Regions from separate parts of the Homo sapiens genome. Here regions 1, 2, 3, 4 and 5 are each linked to region 6. The links are contacts of gene promoters, found by promoter capture Hi-C in human tissues and cell types (Jung and others, 2019). All regions are on one chromosome and are shown on one strand. Each heading gives the region's core, a stretch centred on a gene start or on the middle of the fragment in contact. The rest is flanking DNA. Distances are from core to core; before and after follow the strand shown. Region 1 overlaps ADCY2 (adenylate cyclase 2). Region 2 has its middle 100 kb from the start of LINC02123. Region 3 overlaps ADCY2 (adenylate cyclase 2). Region 4 has its middle 120 kb from the start of LINC02196. Region 5 has its middle 120 kb from the start of LINC02123. Region 6 holds the start of ADCY2 (adenylate cyclase 2).

Region 1 (3,154 bases), core at 165-2,664, 170 kb after region 6:
TTACCAATGAAGCTGACATTTTCTTCAAGGGCTGTGTTCTTCTTTGTAGTTCTTTTTGTGTAAACTTTGATCTTCTGGCCTTCTTTCTAGCTGTATAGCTTCCTTTGTTTGTGTGAAGTATAAATTTTTTCTCAATTTTTCAGCCATGAAGTAATGGACTGGGTGTGAGTCTAAGTTAATATGGTTGTGTTGAGTTTAGCTTTATTTAAGCAGTTTGGAAATTCAAACTCTACCAGTCATATTTATTTCTGATGTTTCCCAATTCCTGTTTGGTCTTGGTTTTCTTGGGCTTCACTGTATAGAAGTACATAACATTTATATAATTGCCTCATTTCCGTATTTATTCAACACACATTTTCTTATTTGGTCAGCATCTATGAAAGAATTCAGTATGTTAGATCACAGAAACACAAGAAAAATCTAACCTACACTGAATTATCAAAAAGCAATGGATGTACAAAGCTGAGATGCAACAAAGTGCTCTGTCGTCCTCTCTTTCTCTCTCTCTCTCTCTCTCTCTCTCTCTCTCTGTCAGATGTCTTCTGTCTTTAACTGCCTTCTTGTTGTGTGCTCACCTTTTTCATTAGAGCTGGTTCTATCCATTTAAGAGAAAACAACATTCTGGGTTTTGTTTTTAATAGTTTGTGATCTGATTTTTAGAAATATTTCACTTTTTGTTCATTTGGCACTCAATGTAGTATGGAATGAGAGCTCAAAATCAAACTACAGCTTTCCTTTTATTCACACACATTTCTCCAGCAGCATTTATTTCATAGCCAGTTCATGTCCACGTGGTCCTGGCAGTCCTAATTGATATTATATTAACTGATTTAAATATCTTGGGCTCTAATCTTTGGCACTCCAGCCTTTCAGTCTTGATACGGTTTAATCAGATGCATACCTCTTAATTAATCCTTAGTAAGATATATTTAAAAGAAAGTTGAAGAAGCATATGGTATTATCCTTAATGATGGTAAAATAATTAGCTGTTTGACAGCCCTTTTTTTTTTAAAGTTATTTCTCTTGGGTCATGGAAATTTTGTTGTATGAGTGCTTTGTCTCACTTCCAGAGGTGTTCCATAGTTTAATGGTGGAATTTCTCACTGGGAGTGAAAACAGAGTCCAAGATGGGAGGTGTTGATGCATGACCATAGTGTTGGCTTCTAATAAAGGCAATGGTTTCACACCAGATAGGCTGTTTGCTGCTGCTGCTACCAGAACTGGAATTTTCCCCTTCTTGGAGATAAAATACGGCACTTTAGAATTTTCTAGTTAAATCAAAAATTCACCACCTCTCCTCACAGCACAGTGCATAACCAAGGTGAAATTTTATTTCATTCTATTCAACTGACAACTGTTCTAGAAAATGTCTTATTCTTTGTAGCCGCGTAGCTTTCCTTGCATGTGAAGTACATTTTTTTTCCTCAGTTTGTCAGCCATGATGACATGGAGCTGCATGAGTCTAAGTGAACATCTGTAGACTTCCCATCTTTTCCAATTAAACTGGGCAGTAAAACCTGCAGTGTCTGTACATGGGCTGTTTGTCAAATAGACTAACAACTATGGTAGACTGCAATGTGCTACTGAAACAGAAGCTATTTTGCATTAAGAGGTTTATTCTACTTAGTAGCTATAGATGAAGAGCTCATCATGCAGGATCCATATGGCCTCATGGAGGGATAGAGATGGAAATGAGCAACCCAGTTCAGTGTAGGGCATGATGTGAGCAAGGCACTACGGACACCAAAGAAAGAACTTTTCAACACCTAAGCAACACCTAAGGCAGGTGGGGATGGTTCCAAAGCAGAGGATACCGCAGGACAGAATCTGGATAACAGAGAGATCTAAGAATGCAGGTGTGTTCAGGAATCTCACACCTGCTAAGGGTGGGTTGACCTGGCTGTTGGATGTGGATGAGTGCTTGAGGCTTGAAAAAGACTTGGGCCAAATCATGAAAAACACACATAGTTCATCCAAAATAATTTGGCCTTCATTATGGGCACTAAAGAGATAATTAATTGCTTTAAACAATGTAAGGATATGATCCAGGATTGCTGAGGAACATGCCTATTCACCTGTCATCGACACACTCCACAGCTGCTGCCCTAGAGGTTTATTTAGGGTTCTTCAGTTACCAGGGTACTCCAGATAGTTAGCTCCCTAATTTCCCTCCAACCCTAGGTCACCAAGCCAGTTGGAATATACAAGACTTTTTCATATTCCATTTGCCTAACTTCTTGCCTAATCATTCCTCTGAACTGTGGCCTCAGTATGACTCTGACTTCCTGAGCTCCAAGCCCATAGTTGAAATGGTGAACTGCTCAGGCTTAAGAGAGACAGAAAGATTGGTTTTCTGCCTTTGGAGAAGGAAAGAAGACTGATGTAATTGACCCAACTGGGGTTACTGAGCATTGAATCTCAACTTAATTTAGCTGTGCTGTTTCAGTCTTCTACTCACACGTGTATGGGAAAGTTCATTGTGGTTTGAAAATGAATTTTCAATGGATAAACATTAATTAATTATTAAACCATTAATAATCTTGAAAGTGCAAGGGACCTTACATATCTTTTAAACCAGTATCATTGATTTTCTAAAAGGAAACTGATTGACTGAATGACTAGATTAAGGTCACACAATCACTATAAGTGTAACCCTATGACTTCTGCTTGAAAATTTCACTTAAGCTTTTCCCTGAATGATTAAATTTCCAATCAGATCATAATTGGGATTTGTTGAGGGGCTGTGACTACAAATTCTGACAGTCACATATTTCTAGGGGCAAAATGAAAACATAGAAAATCTTAGATCAAGCCACTGGTTGGTGCCTTGACTTTTGGACCAGAACAGCTGAACTGTGTGTTAAATATCATCATGAGAAACTTAAATGGACCAACTAAAATATTTTAACATCCTATAATTTTGTTGTAATAAATGCAGTTTAAAAACCTTTTTTTCTTCAACATTTCATGTAACCACTGAAATTTAAACTTCTGTAAGTCTAGGCAACATTGAGCAGGTATTCCCTCTTAATTCAGTATGACGTGAGAAAGTGAAGCAGTGTTTTGTCGCCTCTGGACATGGGTAGGAGTGACTAAAAGTGGACCAGAAATGAGGATGAGATGAAGAAAAAATGCAGAAAAAAAGAAGATAATA
Region 2 (3,243 bases), core at 33-2,532, 150 kb before region 6:
CATGCATAATGTCTGTATCAAACAAGGCAGAAGTTGCCAAGTTCCAAAGGACAAGCACGACGTGGCAGGGCACTCATGGGAAGCAGAGGCTACCAGTGATTGAGGAGGGGCAGGAAGAGTCTAATGGAAGAAGAGCCATGTTCACCCAATTCTGAATGTGTTTTGGCAGATAAAGAAGTAGGTCCTGGCCGCTTAAAGAAAAAAAAAAAAGGAAGAAGGAATCTTCAATAATAGCTCCAGCAGAGAGAAAGCCATTAGCGGGCTGAGAGCCAGGAGAACTGTGCTGTGAAAACGAACAATAAGAAAAGGCACTGGATTCAGCCACTTTGAGGAATAGCTCCAAAGAGAAGTGAGGGCCCACATTAATTCAATAAGTAGAAGTTTTCAATTTTTACTCCAACATATGTTTCTTGAGCGCCCATTGCATGTTAATCGTTGGGATAGAGTAGAGACAGCGAGCCCTTCTGCTCTGCCTTCCGGAACCTTGTAGTTTGGTGGTTGAGGCAGATGACAGGATCTGCGAGGGGTAATTAAGGAGAAGAGCCAGAGGCCACAGAAGGTGATAGTGAGGGGTCTCATTTGAGCCACATGGGCCACTGAGTGCTTTGATGCTAGGGCTGGTGTGATCCAGGTCACTCCAGTGGACTGGGGTGCGCAAGAATGGAAGGGGGGCACCCAGGATGCTCACAGCAATCCAGGCAAGATGAGAGAATGCCAGAGAGAGAGGCAACTTCGTATATTGAAGGTAGACTTTGGAGATGATTGGTAAATCTTAGCAATGCACGTGAGAGGGTGGGAGAGATTTCTGGGTACGGAGCCTGAGCAGCTAGGGGTGCCATTCTCTGCAAAAGAGATGGCTAAAAAAGGAGCAGTTTGGGGCAGGAAAGAAAATAACAGTAATACTGGAAATAATAAGCAAATCAGGTAAGACCTACCTGGAAGCATTTTTTTTTTTTTTCTGAGCAGTTGGTATCTGTTGTCTCCCTACAACCCCACAGCATCTCCATTTTGCAAAAGAGAAAACTGAAGACAAAGAGGATAGGCAAATGACCTAAGGTCACACACGAGCAGGACAGCCAGATGGCCACCCAGGACATCTGAATTTGTTTTAGGAAACAATGTCTTTGAGATGCATGTGGGAAATGCACATGGAAAGACATAAACATGAGACCCTTCCACATGAGCCAGGAGCTCAGAAGGTGATCTTCACTGCAGACAGACTATTGGCAATCTCTGGTATAAGGAGAAGGCATTTATTGAAGAGTGAGTGAAAGCTGAGTACAAGAGGCAGATATTACAGTGTCTTCTTTCAAGCAGAAAAGGAAAGAAGAGATGAGACGCATCCACAGGGAGTAAGGGAAGGTGGTTCAAGGACAGGGCAGATTAGACAAGATCCCCCTCCACTTCCACAAAGACAGTGGAAGATGCAAGGGTATCATCGAGCTGGAGCCTGAGGACTGCAGAGCATGGAGGGGTGAGGCCGTTGGCTGGGGGCACAGTGAGTGAGGCAGCAGGAGGAAGCTTTAGTCCCAGGCTAGTGTCACCCAGTGCAGGTGGAAGCCGCAGAAGAATCATGGCACAGATGCTCTGAAGAACATCTCAGACTAAGTGAGCACTCTACAAACACAAACTCAGACAAGACCTGCAGCAAACAACAATAAGGAACATCTTCCCCTACTTCATAAGTGAGAGGCATGAGAGCAGGCATCATACATTTGCACTCAAAGCTGTTTCATATTTTCTGAGGATGGTTCCAAGCAGATCTCTCTCTTTACTTCCACAGAAGAAGAAAAATAAATAAATTTCTGATAAGCTGAATTCTAGCAGAGTGTGGGAGAAAGGATGTTTTTTGAAATATTGGGAATAAAAAATATCTATTGCAACCCACGGTCATTAGTTTGTGTGTTTACTTTGGGGACTCTACATAGATATCCTTATGGCTTGAAGTAAGAATGGGATTGAGCCGTTTATTAAGTGCCTGGCTATTTGAGTTTCCAGGAGGAATAACGGCCTATCTAATGTAATGTGCTGGAAGTGGATCCCACATCAGCTGAGGTCAGGAGACCAGAGCACAGTCAATGGGCCCATGGGGAACACTGGGCACTGCACTGTGGACTCCTCCTGTGGTCTTGCGCTGCAGCAAGACCTGATCTCTGGACTCTGATCTTGTGCTACAAAACCTGATGACATCCCATTTCCAACCCCACTTCCTTCTCCTGGGCAGACAAATAAGGCAATTCTCAGTTTCCCCTGCAGCTCTGCTGGGGCTGTGTGATTGAATTCTGGACAACAGAATCTGAATAGATGTAATAGAAGCCAATTTTTAGGTGTGACCATAAGCCCCATTTCCCAGATATCCTCTTTGTCTCTCCCCATTTGCATAGCTGGAAGTCAAGAAGTCCAATATTTCAAAGGAGCACACGAAGCGGGATGGCTGAGTTACAGTTATTTTTTACAACAGGTAAAATCATGCATTTTTCATTAACTGTTCTGCCAATGCTGAAAGTTAAAGTTAAGGACAGCAAGCCCAGAAGCAAGGAGCAGGGGGAGGCTGGGGGATCCAGGGACGGAGGCTGGAGAGCATGGGCAGGTTGGAAAGTCTCAGAGGAGGGAAAATCAGCTGGGATTGCAGCTTGAAGGGTGTGGGAAAGGTTAAGTGCCTCTCAGGGATTTTTTGTATGAAACATTAATTGCTTTCTGATTGTAAAAGGAATACCAGTTCATCACACAGGATTTGGAAGACAATAAAGATATAAAGAAGAAAAATGAAAGCATTGATAAGATCATTACTGAATAGCCACTACCAAGATTTGGTAGTATTTGCTTCAAACATACATGAGCACTGGGAGCTCTCCTGGGGTGGTTTGCAATAACCTGCTTTGCAACCCTAACTGTCTGTGAGTAATGGCATGAGTGTACAGGAGCGTTAATTACCTCCACAGTTGGTGGGTAACATCCTGAGTGCTTGCAGGAATACCTGCTGTTGGTATGACCAGAGGTCAATTGTCTCTTGTAATAAATCAGGTAGATAGACATTCTAGAAAGCATTTTACTTTACTGAGACACAAAATTCAAATTCCTTGCTGTGTAACTCTGCCAGCCTGAGAATTATTGCTGGCTGTTAATTATTCTTTGTATTGTATTTGAGACACAAGAAATTGTTGAAGTGACTTACTGTTTATAATTAGAAGCTATGATTAAAACTGCTTTAACATTACCCTGGGGCCCTCTCTCCAACATGAA
Region 3 (3,187 bases), core at 535-3,034, 140 kb after region 6:
CAGCTAAATGTAAAGTAGCTGAGTTAGTGGCATCCTTTAAAGGTAATCATGAAAAATGACCACGCTTCCGGCATCCTCAAACTTTGATGTTATTCTCTTGTTTTCTTCAAGATGAGTCAGATCCATACATGGATTTACATCTCTTTCTGAGCTCTTCACATTTATAGTATTATAGAAGGATTGGAGGGAGGATACGAAGGTGATTGAAACAATAAGAAATCGGATATGCAAAGAGAAGTTCAAAGATCTGGGATTTCTTGTCACTGGCAGAAAAATGAGCTAAGTTTGAACTGTTGCTAATGATATTAACATGACCCATAGAAAGTATCGTGGCTGGTGTGTGATTCCAAGCAGCCCCCGCGATGTTTGTCTCTGGAACAATAGAGATCACCTAACTTTAGCTATTTAACCAGTCAGAGAAGGTCGCCATTTTGATTTCCTATTAATATGGAATAAAAGGCATTTTCAAAAATACTATAGGAGATGCTGAGGGCATTAATTGGAAGTAAACTGTCCTACATCTAGCTCAAGAAGTTTTGTCAGTGCAGTATTTTACTGCTGCAAGCTGTGGCTTATAAAACTCTGATGTAAGGCTTATTAACAGGTTGAAGACTGTGTTTCCTGATTTAGTACAAAGGAGTTTCTCTGAGGCAAAGCTGGGCTTTCTTCTGGCCAATCCTCCAGACTTTCCCTGCTGAAGATTATCCAGACCTTTATGGGGTGGAAGTCCTATATTGCAGACATGGGGGTGCCCCCAGTGGAACACATTTCCACCCTCAGACCAATCGTGTAGGGCAGATTTGGCCATTACAGTACTGGAGATGATAGTCGTTTAGACAGGGGTGGATGGATCCCAGCCAAGAACAAGAGGCGACTTGAAACTCTCACCTGTGCAGGTGGAGTGCACCACTCGTCACTGTCATCCCCCCCACATGCCCCAGAGTCGGTTCAGGAACAGTGGGGTCAGTTGATTCTCACCTTGATTGATTGCCTCCCTTGAAGAATTTTCTCAGATGACTTTAGGAACTGGGATCTTACCCATGCAATACCTCAATATATCATTGCAAATTAGTTTCCCAACATTTTTAGTTCTTTTTGTTGCTTGATCTTCTGTATATCAAAACCCATTCTAGATTTTTGACTCAGCTGGAGTTTACCTTTACCTACTTACCTAGCAGTGTTTTTCATTCTCAGCGAACTATCACAGAAAACCAAACACCACATGTTCTCACTCATAAGTGGGAGTCGAACAAGGAGAACACAGGGACACAGGGAGGGGAACATCACACACCGGGGCTTGTCAGGGGGTGGGGGGCTAGGGGAGGGATAGCATTAGGAGAAATACCTAATGTAGGTGATGGGTTGATGGGTGCAGGAATAGTTTTTTTCTTATAAATAAGGTTTCACGTTGATCTAACATATTTAGAGTAAGAACAGTCATTTCTAATCAAAATTTGACTTAAAGTAATCAATAAATCACAGTTATTTACTGTCTTTAATTCTGTATATCCTATAGAAATAAAAGAATTTTGTGGATTTTGATTAAAAGTCTCACTGACTGTGTAGAAATTTTATTCTGGTTTTAGATTCTTATAGGAAATCTTACAAACTATTTTGAACTTACATTTTGGACCAATTTAAAATTCTCATTTCTTATTTACTATGTTTTAAAATCTAATATTCATAACATCTGCAAAGTAAAAACATTTCCATTTAATTACAGGACTTTTGATTTATACATAATTTAAAATTCATTTTTATTCCTGGCTCCAGGTTTCAATACATGTTTGTCTTAAGTGTTAGAAAACTCATTGTCTCCACTTCAGTGTCCCATAAGCTTTCAAATTAAGCATTTCCCAAAGTCAACTCAGTATTTTCCTGCTCAAGTGTCCTCTGTCTCTGTAGATGGCACCACCATCCTCTGTACTTCCCAGCCTTTCAATGGAGACCCACTTGTCGCCTCCTCCATCACACTCACCCCTCCATCTTGTTAGGCACCAGATTCTGTTTATTGCACATTCTTTGCTGTCCTCCCAAGTCACTTTCCTGCTATTCATCCTCTGCCTCTGCCCTGGGTCAGAATGCATCACTTACTGCCTGGGGAGCTGCGGGAACCCCCAGCCTCATCCTTTGCTTTCCAGGTGCTCATTCTAAAACTCAAGTCTGCCTTTAGAATCCTTCAATAGCTTTCTAGTACCTGCAGAACAAAGTAGTCCACATCTCTTGGTGCGGCATGCAAGGCCCTGTAGGACATGGCCCTGCAGCCTCCACAGCCTGGCCCCTCCCTTCCCTTGCATGGATTCTGAGCTCTGCAGATGCTGGGCTCCTCACAGGGCCCTGATTGTGCTTGGCCATTCCTCTCCTCACTGTTGTTAAGTCTGTTCTATCTCCATCTGGGGCATGCCAGCACTGTCACCTGGCCAGTGCCTAGGTGTCACCCACAGAAAGTCTTTGATAGCCCACGAGCCTATCCCAGGAGCTCACATTCGAGCTCTCAGAGCAGTCATAATTCTCCTCTCACCTGAATAACACTGGACTCTCTTTCCTGACTCCATCTACCCTGGGAGCTCCGTGAGGGAAGGAACTTTGTCTTTGATCTCGGGTACATAGCAGATACTGCTTACTGGTCAGACATAATATAAAATATTTTTTGTTGACTCTCCCAGAATAAAAATACATGTTTCCCTTTTTCAAAGATAGCATGATCCATAATAGAAACAGCTTTAATTTTGGAGCCAGGAAGACTTGAGCTCCAATCCCAGTTCTGCATGAATTGGTTGTATGAATTTTAGTAAGTGATTTAGCTTCTCTGGCCATCTGTTTACTTATCGGTAAAAGAGGACCAATAATGGAATACGACTGAGGATTAGGGATTGGGAGTATGTAATTCCCAGCTAAATGCTTGGCTCATGTTAAGTGTCCAATAAACGGTGGCTGTTTATTAGGTTATGGCTTTCTTTCTCTCTGGCTTATTTTTTGTTTATTTTTCAGTAACACACACATTATCAGCCTTTAAGGTTAGGAAAGAACTTCTGCTTGAAATATTTAAATGGGAGAAAACATTTGAGTTTTCTCATTTAAACTTTAACATTTTAAATGTTAATACATTTAAACATCAAGCAAGATATCCCATAATGGTTTTCTAGAACAGCTAATTGATTAATCATATAAACCTTAATGGGAAGAA
Region 4 (2,780 bases), core at 220-2,719, 240 kb before region 6:
CTAAATTGCCCTTGTTGATGAGAAGACTGAGCAAGAGCATTGTTGTCATGGAGAAGAACTTTACGGTGAAGCTTTCCCAGACGTTTTTCTGCTAACATTTTGGCTTTTTCAAAACACTCTCATAATAAGCAGATGCTATCATTCTTTGGCCCTTCAGAAAGCCAACAAGCAAAACGCCTTGAGCATCACAAAAAACTGTTGCCATGATGTTTGCTCTTGACTGGTCTGCTTTAGCTTTGACTGGACCACTTCTACTTCTTGGTAGCCATTGCTTTGATTTTGCTTTGTCTTCAGGATCATATGAGTAAAGCCTTGTCTCATCTCTTCTTACAATTCTTCAAAGAAAAGCTTCAGCATCTTGATACCACCTGTTTAAAATTTCCATTGAAAGATCTGCTCTTGTCTGCAGTTGACCTGGGCACAATGGTTCTGGCACCCATTGAGTAGAAAGTTGGTTTAACTTTAATTTTTTAACCAGAATGTGTAAACTGAGCCAATTGAGATGTCTATGTTGGCTATTGTTTCTGCTGTTAATCATTGGTGCTCTTCAATTAAGGCATAAAAAGTTAAATTGTTTCCTTGCAAATTGATGTGAATGGTCTGATTCTGTGGGCCGCATTTTCAGCATCATCTTGTGTCTTCTTAAAACAAGCTATCTATTTATAAACTGCTGATTTCTTTGGGACTCTTGCCTCCATAAGCTTTTTGTAAAGTGTCAATGATTTTACCATTCTTCAACCCCAGCTTCACCATAAATTTGGTGTTTGTTTTTGCTCCAGTTTTAGCAGAATTTATGTTGCTTTGGTAGGGAATCTTTTCAAACTGATACCTTATGCTTCCTAATGCCTCAAACTAGATCCTATTCAGTGAGGTAATAACAAGTTAGTATGAGTTTATTTTGGTGCAAAAAATTTTGAAATACGTGCATAGTTTTTTTATAATGCACATTTTCTATGAACTTTTTGAAGCCCTCTTGTTTGTATAGTATCATTTTCCCCATTTTATTGTTTTGTTGTTATACATTTAGGGGATACAAGTGCAGTTTTGTTATACGGATATACTGTGTAGTGGCAAAGTCTGGGCTTTTAGTTGTACCCATTGCCCAAATAATGAACACCGTACTCAGTAGGCAGTTTTCAACCCTCACCTCTCTCCTACCTTCCCAACTTCAGAGCTCCAGTGTCTATTATTTTACTCTGTATGTCCATGTGTACCTATTGTTTAGTTCCCACTTACAGAAGAAAACATGGCATTTGACTTCCCATTTCTGAGTGATTTTACTTAGAATAACGGCCTCTAGTTCCATGCATGATGCTGCAGAAACCATGATTTTGTTATTTTATGGCTGAATACTATTCCATATATATATAATGGAATATGAATTCAGACAAGATTTTTAATAATTCAGACAAAATTTATATATATATTTTCTTTACCAAATCTCTGTTGATGGACACTTAGGTTGATTCCAAGATTTTGCAATTGTGAATAGGGCTGTGATATACTCTTTTCCATAAAGATTGTACTAATATACATTCCCACAAATGGTGTACAGTTGTTCCCTTTTCTCTGCACACTCCCCAACATCTGTTGTCTTTAGACTTTATAATAATAGTCATTCTGACTGGTGGAAGGAGAAATCTCATTGTAGTTTTAATTTGCATTTCTCTGATGATTAGTAATGTTGAGCATTTTTTCTTATGTTTGTTAGCTGCTTGAATGTCTTCTTTTGAAAAATGTCTTTTCATGTCTTTTGCCTGCTTTTTAATAGGGTTTTTTTTTCTTGTTGAGTAGTTTGAGTTCCTTGTACATTCTGGATATTAGGGCTTTGTTGGATGAATAGTTTGTAAATATTTTCTCCAGTTCTGTAGGTTGTCTGTTTACTCTGTTGATTATTTCTTTTGCTTTGCAGAAGCTTTATTTTAACTAAGTCTCATTTGCCTATTTTTATATTTGTTGCACTTGCTTTTGAGGTCTTGGTCATAAATTACCTGCCTATGCCAATGTCCAGAAGAATTTTTCCTAGGTTTTCTTCTGGAATTTTTATAGTTTCGGGTATTACATTTAAGTATTTAATCCATCTTGAGTTAATTTTTGTATATAGTTAGAGATAGGGATCTAGTTTCATTCTTCTGCACATGGTTATCCAGTTTTCCCAACACTGTTTATTAAATAGGGTGTCCTTTGCACAAGGTATCCTTCAACTTAGTTGAATATCCGTTGGTTGAGGGTATGTGGCTTTATTTCTGGGTTTGCTATTCTGTTCCACCGATTTATGTGTCTATTTTTATGCACAGTATCATGCTGTTTTGATTACTGTAGCCTTGTAGTATAATTTATAGTCAGGTAATGTAATGCCTTCCATATTGTTCTTTTTGCTTAGGATTGCTTTGGCTATTCAGGCTCTTTTATGATTCCATATAAATTTTAGAATTGTTTCTTCTAATTCTGTGAAAAATGACACTAGTAATTTGATAGAAATTGCATTGAATCTGTGGATGGCTTTGGATAATATGGTCATTTTAATGATATTGATTCTTTCAATCCATGAGCATGGAATGATTTTCCATTTGTTTGTGTCATCCACTATTACTTTCATCAGTGTTTTGTAGTTCTTCTCATAGAGATCTTTCACCTACTTGGTTAAATGTATTTCTAGTGATTTTATTGTTTTGTAGCTATTGTAAATGGGATGAGCTTTTGTTTTGGTTCTGAGCATGATCTTTATTGATGTATAAAAATACCATTGATTTTGTATCCTGAAACTTTACTGAAGTCAT
Region 5 (2,768 bases), core at 155-2,654, 170 kb before region 6:
TGTAATGTCTCTTTTTATCCCTGACCATACTTTTGTTCTGAAGAGAACTTTGTATGAAATCAATATAGCTGCTCCAAGTTTCTTTTGATTGGTGTTTATCTGGTATATTTTTTCCTATATTTAAATTTTCACTTACCCATGTGTTTATACTTAGAGTGAGTTTCTTGTATAGCACATAATTGAGTCTTGTTTTTATTTTATCTGACAGTATTTTTACTTAGCTTGTTAAGACAACGTACATTTAATGTAATTACTGATATTTTCATTAAAACACACCATATTGTTAGCTGTTTTCTATTTGTTCCATCTCCTACTTCCTTTATCTTTTCCTGCCCTCTCTTGGGTTTTTTGAGCAATTTTTATGGTTCCATTTTTATTTCTATTGTTGAGTTATTATTTATAACTGTTCATGTTTTTGATAGTTAGCTTAGGGTTTAAAATGTAGATCCTTACATAATAAGAGTCTATATTCAATTAATATTACATGTCTTTATGTGTAGTATAAAAACAATAAAAGTGTATATTCCAAATCCTTCCTTCTTACCATTTGTGATGTTGTTGCCTTACAGTTCACTTTTACATATACTATGAACACATCACACAGTGCTACAATTTTTGCTTTACACAGTTATTATTCAGAGCAATTCAGAGGAAAAAGAAAATAAAAAAACATGAATTTCATAACACATTGATTACATTTTCCACATTCTTTTACTTTGTAGATTCAAGTTTTCACCCAGTATTGTATTTCTTCTGCCTTGCAGAGCTGACGTTACCACTTCTTGTAAAGTGGGTCTGCTGGCAATGAATTCTCTTGAGTTTTTGTCTAAGAAAGTATTTATCTTACATTTTTGAGGGATATTTTCACAGAGCATTAAATTCTGTATTGACAAACCTTATTTTCTTTCAGCACTTTGAAGTCATCAATGCTTTTTTTTTTTTTTACTTTCATGGTTTCTGACAAGAATTCTGCTGAAATTCTTATCTTTATTCCTTTATATGTCATTTTTCATGCCTTTCTCTTTATCTTTTGTTTACAACAATTTGAAAATGTGTCTAGACGTTTCGTGTTTGTTTTATATTTTAGCATATATTCTGCAGAAGGTTTCTGAGTTTCATGGGTCTGTGGTTTGATGTCTGAAAATCACTTAGGAAAATTGTCAGACATTGTTTCCTAAAATATTTCTTACACACTATTTTCTCTTTTCCTTCTGAGTTTCCAGTGATGCACATAACCAATGATATTTTTTATAGCTTTTGGATGCCCCTTTCTTTTTACTTTTCAGTCTTTTTCTCTGTGTTTCAGTTGAGTAATTTTATTGACATATTGTCAGGTACACTGATCCACCTCTTAGCTGTGTTATGGGCCCATTGAAAGCATTCTGCATCTCTGTTACAGTGTTTTCCATTTGTCACATTTCTATTTGAGTTTTTCTTACAGTTTCCACCTCTTTGCTAATATTATTCATCGATCTTTCATGGTATATACTTTTTCTGTTGGAAAATTCAACATATTAATAATAGTTATTTAAAATTTTTGGTCAGTTACTATCTATGTCTTATCTGAGTCTGGTTTTGTTTACTGTTTAGTATCTTGGGGAATTTATTGCTTTTTTTTTTTTTTTTGCCTGAAAGACATCTAGAATACTTCAACACTGGGTAAACAGTTCTATGTACACCTTTCCTTTTGCTCATTCATTCCTGTGGTGGGTTTTGTTAATCTAGTCAAAAGATCGGGATAATTTTTTTTTTTTTTTGTAAAGAGGCAACTAGTAAATATTTTAGGGTTGTGGGCCATTGGATCACCACAGCTCTGCCACTGTCTCATGAAAGTGGCCTCAGACAATACATAAAATGTGGGTATGGCCATGCCCCAGTGAAACTTTATTTATCAAGTAGGCAGGGTAGGCATTTGCCTTGTGAGCCATGTTTTGCTGATCCTTGATCCAGTCAGCAGTTGTGCTGGGCTTGAGGTTTCTTGTTGCTGTGTTTACCTTCAGAGTATTGCAGGCTTCAAACTCTCCTAGCAATACCTTGGGTTTGGTATGGAGTCTGAGTTTCTAGAGGTTTCTTCTCAAAGTCTGCCCCATCTTCAGCTTTACGTATCCCTTTTCCCTGATCCTCAGGGAGAGCCTGTCTCATGCATGCTTCCTAGTAATGTTTCAATATTACTTTTAACTGATGCTTATTTGCTGCCCTGGGATGGACGGAGTTCTGATGTCCTGATTATCCCTTGGTCTTACAGCTTGTATCCCTGGGTCTCATGGCCTCCACAAGAACCATGCCTCTTCTCCAGCTGGAGGTTTGGATCTGATATGTATTCTCACCCCTCCTCCAGGGCTGACAGTCTTTATTCTCTTCCCTTCCCTCAGCTGCAAGACAGTTCTGTTGCCCATCTTACCCCCCAGCAGATGACAACTTTATTGTGATGGGAAAATGGGGCAGAGGGATCCAGGTTGATTTTTGCATCACCTTTCTATGCCCCCCGGCATCTTTGTCAGGACTCCACAGTCTTCCCTGGAGCATCTGGTGGAGTTTGTGGTGAAAGATCTTCATGAAGATGCAACTCCCCACCCCCACCCCAATTATTTGCATCCCCCAGGTGCAGCACAGGCTCTCACCAGCCTGCATTTGGCCTTCACCAGGATTCATTGACTATTTCTACAGAACTCTACTAACTGGGTCCAGATGCATCTGAGCCAGGGCAGCAGGTGCTGGAGTCTCATCTCTTTCTATGGACACTGGTTCCTCCCTAGAATTTGAGTTCT
Region 6 (2,997 bases), core at 290-2,789:
GAAGGTTCTGAGGTCTTAGGTGGTGACAAGGCTGAGTCCTGAGAGCTGGTCATCTCCTGGAAGAGATGAAAAGTGCATGGAACAGCCCTCTGGGGCTGCCCTCTGGGATGCTCGCTGGTGGCAGGAGAAGGGAGGGCTCTTGTGCCTTGGATTCCTTGGGGTAAGGCTTTGGGGGAGGAGGTGGGATTTGGGGGCTCTTTGGGCCGGACCACACTCGAATAGGAGGAAACTTCCAGAAGGGTGGGTTCCTTTGGTGATAAGCAATGAAGCCCCTTCGGCCCCCAGGGCGAAGGCCAGCGGCCTCCGCTCCCACGCGTGTCGGGAGGGGACACTGTCCCTGGTGACATCCGCCCCCACAACGCTCCTGCCGGGTCTCTAGCGCCTCCTGCGTCCAGGCCCCCAAGGTGACAGGGAGGGAGCTACTCCCAGGGCCGACCCGCCCGCTCCCGCGCCCAGCCGCTCTCCCCGGCGCCCCTTTGCCGCCATCCCCGCTCAGCAGAGGGGCTCGGCGAGGACCACGACCAGCCACGGGGCAGCTCTGTAAACCTGTGATATGACAGGCTTATACGGCACCTCCAAAGTGTGACTGAAGCTGAGCGTGCAGGGCGCAACGGACGCTGCCCCCGCGAGGCCGTGGCGGGGGCTCCCAGTGCAGTCACTGCCGCTTCACTTCCACATGGTGCCGGTCTCCAGTTAGGTCCCCTGGCGTTTCCGCGCCCTGCCGCCCTCGCAGGGAGCCCCGGCCCTCTCAAGAGGGTGGAGAGGATGGGGGAGCCCTCAACCCTGCTACGCTGAGGGGAAGAAGGGCTGGACGGCAAACCGGTGCCCACCGCGGGGAGGCGGGAAGGGTGGGAAATCCTCTCCAGCTCCCCAAAAGAGTGAAAAGGAGGGAGACCCCGCTGTCCTCTGACCCGCGTACTAAAGGAGGGACCCCCCGGGTCCTCTGACCCCGGCTGCGCTCTGTGACTGTGGGGGAGGGTGGGAGCAGGCCCCGCAGCCCACTAAGGGGTGGAGGAAACAGGAGGGTGGCAGCGTCCCTGCCCGCTGACCTTGAGGTAGTGGAGAGGAGCTGAGGAGCCCCGCAGTGCTCCGAGCCAGGTGGGGCGGGGGGAGTGGTGGGGGTAGGACTCCCTCCCTCCACCCCTTAGGCTGTGTTCTCACTTCGTAGCGGGGAGGGCCGTCCCTCCCACCCCACCCACGCTGCACTCGGGATAGGGCAGAGGAGGTGGACGACCTGGTGGCTGAGTGTGGGAGGCCGGCGGGCGAGGACGACCCCGGGCCGGGGCGCAGCGGGAGCCCCTCAGTTCGCCACTCCCCCCACCGTACAGCCCCCGCCGTCCCCAGCCTGCAGCCGGGCCGTCGGGTGGGGGCCGACACCGCCCCTGCACGGAGGCCGGCTGCGCGCGGGGCGGGGAGCGGCGGGCGGAGGGCCCCGTGGAACCCGCCCCCTCCCGCGCGGTGGCGGTGGCGGCGGCGGCGCCGGGAGCTGCCCCCGAGGCCGCCGCCCGGCCCCCGCCCGCGCGTCAGCGCGCCCAGCCCGGGGCGCCGAGCTCCGCCCGCGCCGGAGGCCCCTGCGCGCAGCTCCGGGTGCCGGCAGCCGGGCCGGCCGAGGCGGCGCGGGGGTGGGACGCGGGCGGCCGCGGCGAGCGGCGCTGCCCGGGCCGGGCGCGCACGGCGGGCGCCCTGTGAGCGGCCCCGATGTGGCAGGAGGCGATGCGGCGCCGCCGCTACCTGCGGGACCGCTCCGAGGAGGCGGCGGGCGGCGGAGACGGGCTGCCGCGGTCCCGGGACTGGCTCTACGAGTCCTACTACTGCATGAGCCAGCAGCACCCGCTCATCGTCTTCCTGCTGCTCATCGTCATGGGCTCCTGCCTCGCCCTGCTCGCCGTCTTCTTCGCGCTCGGGCTGGTGAGTGGCCTCCCCGCGGGTCCAGCGCCGCGCCTTCCCCGGCCCTGAGAGGAGCCCGGCCAGCCGAGCCGCGTCCCGCTCCGGGCTGCCCCTCGGCCCGCGGCAGCCCCTCGGCCCGCGGCAGCCCCTCGGCCCGCGGCTCCCTGCTTCTCCTGCTGGCCCGCGGCCCGGTGGACTCTGGCAAGGGCTGCGGGCGGGAGAAAAGTTTCCTGGGAAGGCTCTTCCCAAAATAAAGTTCCCGAGGTGTTCACCAGGTGGACGGGCAGGGCGTGTGCTTTTTGCATCTTTGCGCACCCGCTGGCAAACTCTGCGCTTTCCGCCGGGCACCGCTGCCCGCAGCGCTGGAATAGGTCTTCCCCGACTCAGCCCTGGGCTTCCTGGGCGAGTCGCTGTCTCCTGCCCGGTTCCACTGGCATGGCCCCACAGTTGGCATTTTAGTTGGGATTGGGCGTTATTCAACTCTGCAGAAAGCCTGCCTTGGGAAAGTGGTTAATGACAAGGAAAATGAAGAAGAAAAATTAAGTATACATCTTTGCCTTTAAATCTGTATGCATTTAGCTCTTTAGCCCGATAGACGGAAAGTGATGTGGTGTTGACTTGTGAATCAATCTTTCATCTCAGAGACTACAGTTAAGAAGCGTTTGGGACGGACGATTGCTTTCCCGTTTCTAAAGAAGTAACGTGTTTAGGGTTTTGGACAGGTTATTAAAGTGGATTTCATCACGAGGAGTATAATGCAGCTCAACAGCTGATGTCAGTTTTGCCAGTTTATATTTTTCAAGCAGAAATCCTTGGCTCGCTCCCTTGAAAAGTGAGGGGAAGTCTGTAGATGGCGATAACTTCCTGTTACTGATCTCTGAGTGTGTGGTTCAAACTTTTGCACTGCCTGTGACATGCATGTGCAGATTTTGTGCGAGGCATTGATTATCCACCAGTGAGTTTTTTTTTTTTTTTTTTTTTTTTTTTTAGTCAGTGGTTGATCTGTGAATGTGTCCACTGGGTGATGTATTTTGAGCTTAGAATATAAATATGTGCCTATATTTATATGTGTCCACCACCAAAGAAGTGGATTTTGCTTATATTTCACCA

The links. Contacts are between HindIII fragments. The study calls those that stand out against the background at their distance.
Region 1: a fragment that was not itself captured here is called in contact with the fragment with the promoter of ADCY2 in region 6 in 1 of the 25 tissues and cell types used here (dorsolateral prefrontal cortex).
Region 2: a contact is called between a fragment that was not itself captured here and the fragment with the promoter of ADCY2 in region 6, in 1 of the 25 tissues and cell types used here (mesendoderm cells).
Region 3: a contact is called between a fragment that was not itself captured here and the fragment with the promoter of ADCY2 in region 6, in 4 of the 25 tissues and cell types used here (adrenal gland, dorsolateral prefrontal cortex, hippocampus and 1 more).
Region 4: a contact is called between a fragment that was not itself captured here and the fragment with the promoter of ADCY2 in region 6, in 2 of the 25 tissues and cell types used here (hippocampus and mesendoderm cells).
Region 5: a fragment that was not itself captured here is called in contact with the fragment with the promoter of ADCY2 in region 6 in 2 of the 25 tissues and cell types used here (hippocampus and mesendoderm cells).

Annotation. Positions count from the first base shown.
Region 1 is chr5:7,567,433-7,570,586 of GRCh38, forward strand. The region is part of intron 3 of ADCY2 (adenylate cyclase 2); the gene reads left to right. Among named protein-coding and RNA genes, the nearest start is that of ADCY2, 170 kb to the left of the region's middle. The HindIII fragment of the contact is 4,173 bases long and covers 1-3,154 here.
Region 2 is chr5:7,242,271-7,245,513 of GRCh38, forward strand. No RefSeq gene overlaps it. Among named protein-coding and RNA genes, the nearest start is that of LINC02123, 100 kb to the right of the region's middle. The HindIII fragment of the contact is 4,921 bases long and covers 1-3,243 here.
Region 3 is chr5:7,535,521-7,538,707 of GRCh38, forward strand. All of the region lies in intron 3 of ADCY2 (adenylate cyclase 2), which reads left to right. Among named protein-coding and RNA genes, the nearest start is that of ADCY2, 140 kb to the left of the region's middle. The HindIII fragment of the contact is 7,014 bases long and covers 1-3,187 here.
Region 4 is chr5:7,152,114-7,154,893 of GRCh38, forward strand. No RefSeq gene overlaps it. Among named protein-coding and RNA genes, the nearest start is that of LINC02196, 120 kb to the left of the region's middle. The HindIII fragment of the contact is 4,643 bases long and covers 1-2,780 here.
Region 5 is chr5:7,222,397-7,225,164 of GRCh38, forward strand. No RefSeq gene overlaps it. Among named protein-coding and RNA genes, the nearest start is that of LINC02123, 120 kb to the right of the region's middle. The HindIII fragment of the contact is 5,643 bases long and covers 1-2,768 here.
Region 6 is chr5:7,394,599-7,397,595 of GRCh38, forward strand. ADCY2 (adenylate cyclase 2) reads left to right here and starts at 1,540. Exons shown (of 25, transcript NM_020546.3): 1 at 1,540-1,908. The coding sequence starts at 1,699. It overlaps LOC107986403 (a long non-coding RNA gene), which reads right to left and starts at 1,351. Exons shown (of 2, transcript XR_001742597.2): 1 at 1-1,351. RefSeq lists enhancers at 90-855, 856-1,621. The HindIII fragment of the contact is 8,449 bases long and covers 1-2,997 here.